Regions from separate parts of the Homo sapiens genome. Here region 2 is linked to region 1. Evidence: promoter capture Hi-C in 16 types of primary human blood cells and fetal thymus (Javierre and others, 2016). All regions are on one chromosome and are shown on one strand. The core of a region is centred on a gene start or on the middle of the fragment in contact, and the rest is flanking DNA. Distances in the headings are between cores, read along the strand shown. Region 1 holds the start of ARL13A (ARF like GTPase 13A). Region 2 holds the start of DRP2 (dystrophin related protein 2).

Region 1 (3,085 bases), core at 490-2,989:
TCAGCCATAGTTCATCCTTGTTAAGAATATGTTTATTCAACCTTGCGGAGGTTGGGATGATGCCTAAGAGAAGAACCAACTTAGGCTTCTAGACGGACCTATCGGGAGACCTGTTCCAAGTACCAATAATGTCTCTTCTTCAAAGATGTGGGCATTGGTGACCCACTATTAGAGATTTTATACAAGTTTTGGGGCTATCAGGGACCTTAGAGATCGTCTAGTCTGGATTCAAACATTAATCCAGGTATCCCATCCTCAAAGATTGCCAGGGAGCTGCATAAGCTTCCCAGGTGATGTCAATGCGCAGCTGGATTTGGAAGTGAATGCCTAAGTAAAAAGGATAATTTAGGCAATCACTTCAAGGTTCATCCTTGGAAAGTGGATTGTTTCTACTTTTTGGCTGTTATGAATAATGCTGCTATAAACATTTGTATATAAGTTTTTGTGTGGATATGTTTTCTTTTCTCTTGGGTATATACCTAGGAGTATTACTGCTGGGTTATATAATAAATCTATATTTAACCTCTTGAAGAACTGCCAGACTGTTTTGCAAAGTGGCTACAACATCTTACATTCCCACCAGTAATGCTTGTTTTTTGTTTACAGCTATCCTAGTGGGTGTGAGGTAGGTATTTCATTGTGGTTTCAATTTACATTTTCCTAATGACTAATTATGGTTGACCCTTGAACAACATGGGTTTGAACTGCATGAGTCTACTTATACCAGGCTTTTTTTTTTTCAACCAAATGAGGATATTTGTGAATGTGAAACCCACGTATATGCAGGGCTAACTTTTCATATACATGGGTTTCGCAGTGCCAACTGCAGGATTTGAGAATGCACAGATTTTGGTATATGAGGGGGTTCAGGAACCCATTTCCCCCGAGTTTACTGAGGGACGACTGTATGTTGAAGCCCAAAATTGGAGGAAGCCCTGGTTGGGTTAGCAAAGTACTTCAGTTAATGCTTCGATGGGCTTTGCTTAGCTATCTGATGAGCACAGTTTATGTGCCAGCTTATCAATGGATAATTTATCAGGGTTCTGCAGAGTCATCCAGTCATTTACTGTTCTGGAGAGTTGCCATTCCAAAATACTAACATTTCATAGCATTTCTTATAGCACAGCTCAGACCCTAGGAGATCATTAGGTTTCCCATAAGGACCTCCTGGAGAATGGCTCTGGCTTATGCCAGACAAAAAAGAAACTTTATATATGGCCTGTGATCAAAACCAGCCTTACTCCAGTTTTGCACATGAAGCTGATATGACCAGGAGCCTGAAACATCAGAGCCTAATTGTCTGGGTTCCTTGATAGCCATCTCCCTTGGAGAAGAGGCCAGTAACCGCTTCATGTCTGTTTCCTAATAATTGGCAGAGCCTTCTAACTTGATGTCAGGCTCTCTGTGTTTGTCAGTGCCACCAAGAAGTGTCAAATTGGCATCACACAAGTTCTTCCTTTATAAGGAAGGGTAGGTATGAAAACCCAACTGGGAAAATGATTGAATTAGGGATTGCTGGACTGATCCTTTATTTCTAGTGCCTCTTCTGGGTAGCCTGAAGTGAAATCACCTCAACTAAACCTACCATTTCCAAATTTCTTATCTGTAAAATGAAGATAGTGACATATTTTGCTTACCATGAGGTGGTTATTTATCTGATAAGTTGATTCTTTTTGGATGGAAGACATAAGATATGCAGAGTAATAGGAAGACGCATTGAGCTTTCTAGCCTTCTTGTCAGATTAACACAGCTTAGGTTGTCCATTTATAAAAGCTATGGCAATGTCCTAATAATGGTTGTCACGGTACTGACATGTCTGTGGCAACCACTACCTGGTTCATAGCAACCAAACTCATATCTCCTTACCTTGTATGATTATAGATAATTACTAAAGGAACTTTAAGTCATCATAGTTTTTATTCATTTTACAAAATATTTATATAGAATTTACTTTGTGCCAGGGCTCATTAAAGCACTTTATACACATTAATTCATTTAATCCTTACTACAGCATGACAAAGTAGGGGCTATCATTCCTACTTTTCAGAGATGAAGTTGTTCACAAAGGGGTTACATAACTTGCCAAAGGTTACCTAGCTAATAAATGGTAAAGCCAGAATTCAAACCTAGGCATTCTGGCTTCAGGGTCTGTATTAGGTCAAAGGTCTTGCAGACCTCAGATACCAGAGAAACTGCCTCTGCTCTGCGTATCTCTATCTCTTCTAGCCAAACTGTATCATACTTAGTGAACTTTTTATAAAATGCTTTATTTTTCAGAATGGTTTTAGATATACAGAAAAATTGCTAAGACAGTACAGTGAGTAACCATCCCTAACACCCAATTTCCCTCATTGTTAACATCTTACGATGCTGTATTTGTTACAATTAATGAACCAGTATTAATACATTGTTATTAACTAAAGTCCATACTTCATTCAGATTTCCTTAGTTTTTAACTTAAGCTTCTCAGATTTTGTTTTGTTTTGTTTTTTGGAGACAAGGTCTGGCTCTGTGGCCCAGGCTGGAGTGCAGTAGTGTGATCATGGCTAACTGCAGCCTCAAACTCCTGGGCTCAAGCAATCCTCCTGCTTCAGCCTCCCAAGTACCTAGGACTGCAGGCATGCACCACCATCCTTGGCTAATTTATTTTTTATTCTTTTTAGAGAAGGGTCTTGCTATATTGCCCAGGCTGGTCTTGAAGCCTGGCCTCAAGTGATCCTCCCACTGTGGCCTCCCAAAGGGGTGGAATTATAGGCATGAGATACCACATCCAGCCACTCTATTTGTCTTTGATGACCTTGACAGGAGTGTTCATCAGGTATTTTGTAGAATACCCCTCACTTGTTGTTTATCTGATGTTTTTCTCATGATTAGACTGAAGTTATGTGTTCTTGGGAGGAAGGCCACAGAGGTAACGTGCCATCCTCATCACATCATATCAAGGATACATGCTGTCAACATGACTTATCACTGATGATGTTAACCTTGATCACCTGGCCGAGGCAGTGTTTATCAGATTTCTCCACTGTAAAGATACTCCCCCTACTTTCTATCCTGTACTCTTTAGAAGGAAATCAGTATGCA
Region 2 (3,210 bases), core at 454-2,953, 250 kb before region 1:
GGGGCTTGGTCTTCTTTCAGAAACAGGACACAACACTGCCACTTCCAACACTGCCTTTTCACGGAGGTTTCCTTAGAAGGCCCTGAGATTCTCTGGGATCATCTCCCCACGCAAACCTTAGAAGGAAAATCACCTGAGGCTTGTGGTTCCCACAGGCCTTTTAAAAGGTGATTTACCTGAGGGCCTTTCATCTAGAAACAAGGATTCTTTGGAAAAGTCAGGAATTAAGATGAACTAGACATAGAGCTTTTTTAAGGCTTTTGTTCTTTTGACAATCAAAAAGAAAACATTTTTAAAAAGTATGTTCTTTTCCAGACAGCATGCACCATGCTTTCAACGGAAGCAGGCAGCAGCTGCTGCTGACGTTCTCCTCTACCCCACTCCACCCCACCCCAGCCCAGCCTTGCCACCTGCTTAGACCCAACACCTGTGAGGCCTGGCTCGACCTGCCTACCAAAGGAAGGATAAACATTAACTACCCATATAGTCTCAGGCCCACTTACTAGGCTGGGGCACTTGGTCCGATGCTGGGAAAGGTGGTGAGAGCAGAAGGTGATAGGGTGTTGGACTCCAAGAGAAGCAAGCCCTATTTGAAACCACTCCAAGCTATGCTTTCAAGAGTGGAAAGATGCCTCCTGATTACAGGGTGTAGAAAGGAAACCAGGGGAGAAGATAAGGGGGAAAAATGTCACAGGAAAAACAACAGAGCCAGGAAGTAAATACAGAGATGAGATGAGCCCTTCAGCTCCAGGCTCTTAGGTCAGAGCCTGGTTTACTTCAGCAAAGAACTCCTGTGTCCTGTCTGCTGGCCAGAATACTCATTTGTTCAGGGAACCTGCTCCAAGGTCCCATGTTTCCTCTCTCCTCCCTTGTTAGCCAAGGCTTTCCACACACCTTTGCTTCCCTCCTGCCAAGAAGTATACCCTTGGACAAAAAGCATGCTATTGAGAACCTAAAATAAATAAATGCCCCTCTTTTCTCAAAGAAGCAAACTGTGTACCTCCTTCTTATTCATTTTTAGACCTTAGTTGCTCAAATCGGCTTGAGTTTCTATTCTTGGGCATCTTTTTTTTTTTCTTTATGAATCTAAATGGTGACTACTTTATTGTGGGCATTTTTAAATGCAAGTTTTCCACTAAAGGCACATGCAAGCAGACCGCAGGCAGGCACGCGTACACACACACACACACACACACACACACGCACACACACACTCATTTTCCCTCTCTCCCCCCACCCCTCGCCCGCCACACAGTACCTCTGGAGCTTCCCCTCCCTCAGTCATTTCCCCTCAGCCAGCTGAACAAGGCCAAGGCTTGGAAATAATTTTTCTGTGGCCTACCTTCTGATTCCGTCAGGTCTGAGAAGCAGGCGGCAGCTGTAAGCTGGGAGGCCGGGGCTGGGCTGCCTCTGTGAATCAGCAAAGAAGTCCCTGAGACAGGGATGCCGACAGCTGCTGTATGCACACTCTCCCTCTGTCTCTCCCACTTCCCTGTCTTCCTTCTTCTCCTCCTCCTCCCCTCTCAGAGCTGCTCTGTGTTGCTATGCAATCATATCACCAGGACTAACAGCATCATTCCGACCTCAGGCAAAAATACCCTTGACTGGGCAAACGCAGGAAGAGCAAGGACAGTTTTGTAAAACTACCAGAGATGTGGCGGCTCTTGGAGATGTCAATTCATTAGAAGCAGAGGAGGAAAGCGGAAGAGCCTGAGAAGCAGAGGGGGAGAGAAGGAGACAAGGAGAGGGGGAAGAGGGAGAGAGGGGGAGAGGGGGAGAGGGGAAGAGGGGGAGAGGCTTCCACTGGGGAGGAGGAGACAAAAGAGCCCTGGAGATCAATCAGGCTGCTGAGCGAGCAGCCTGGACCCCAACTTACACCGATCTAGCCCACAGACAAAACCAACTTTGGAGCCAGCAGCTGGCAGGGGCCCCTCGGTAGCCAGTCCAGGATTCTGCTTCTGTGTTGAGGGTTGAAACACTGTGGTCTGGAATCATCACTGGTACTCAAGGTACAGTTTTGGGCTCAGGACAGTCTGCCAGTCACCCCTAAGTCTCATCCTCACACCCTCTTAGATCTCACGTGTAGAAAAAGCCTCAACAAATTGGGGAAACAAAATGGATCTTGAATAATTCAGGAAAATACAGCTCCTCCATGACTCACCTCAATGACTACTACCCCAGGCACCTTCCTGCTTTTGTCCATACCAGCCCTTACTCTTTTAACTGTCACGCTTGTTAAAGAGAAGAGGGTATGAGCTCCAAACACCCTCAGAGACCTGGGAGAAGCCACTGGCAGGATAGATAAGATTATATCCCTTTACCAAGTGCCCAGCACACAGTAGGTTACTTAATAAATATATGTTGAATGAGTAAATTGAATGAATAGGTGGATGAATAGCAGTCAGAAAGTCCCCATCCTCACCCTCCTACACAAACATACAAAGATTTAAAGCCCCAGCAGTCCCAGGCCACAGCAAAGGATAAAAGCAGCTTTCTTCTTTCCTCCCTCCATCTCTGGGAACAGGGTGTATATGGAGAGAGACAAAGACTGGTTGGGAGTGGGTTGCTTAAGTTCACTGATTTGCCTCTAAAAATTTTATAAGCTCTGATGGCACTGGAACTTAGAAAATACTTCCTAGGGTCGGGCGTGGTGGCTCACGCCTATATAATCCCACACTTTGGGAGGCCGAGGCAGGCGGATCACAAGGTCAGGAGTTCGAGACAAGCCTGACCAACATGGTAAAACCCCCGTCTCTACCAAAAAAATACAAAAATTAGCTGGGCGTGGTGGTGTGCGCCTGTAATCCCATCTACTCAGGAGGCTGAGGCAGGAGAATCACTTGAACCTGGGAGGTGGAGGTTGCAGTGAGCCAAGATCGCACCACTGCACCCAACCTGGGTAACAGAGCAAGACTCTGTCTCAAAAAAAAGAAAAAAAGAAAGAAAGAAAGAAAGAAAATACTTCCTAGGACTAGTATTTACATAGGATCTAGGACTAGTATTTACATAGGATCTAGGACTAGTGTTTACAAAGTGTCTAAAGGACCCAGAATTACTGTTTTTTTTCAGTTCCATTTTAAAATTATTATGTGATTTTTTTATGAAGTATTTTTATTATTTATTTTTAATTGACAAATAATAATTGTATATATTTATGGGCTCCAGCGTGATGTTTTGATCTATGTATACTATGCAGAAAAATTCAGCCCA

The links. The method cuts DNA at HindIII sites, captures the fragments that hold promoters and counts their contacts. A CHiCAGO score of 5 or more calls a contact.
Region 2: the fragment with the promoter of DRP2 here is called in contact with the fragment with the promoter of ARL13A in region 1 in 5 of 17 cell types (non-activated CD4 T cells, erythroblasts, endothelial precursors and 2 more); the score reaches 8.7 in non-activated CD4 T cells.

The regions. Positions count from the first base shown.
Region 1 is chrX:100,968,362-100,971,446 of GRCh38, reverse strand. It overlaps ARL13A (ARF like GTPase 13A), which reads right to left and starts at 1,739. Exons shown (of 8, transcript NM_001162491.2): 1 at 1,638-1,739. The HindIII fragment of the contact is 2,181 bases long and covers 285-2,465 here.
Region 2 is chrX:101,218,279-101,221,488 of GRCh38, reverse strand. It overlaps DRP2 (dystrophin related protein 2), which reads right to left and starts at 1,703. Exons shown (of 24, transcript NM_001939.3): 1 at 1,343-1,703. The HindIII fragment of the contact is 8,546 bases long and covers 1-3,210 here.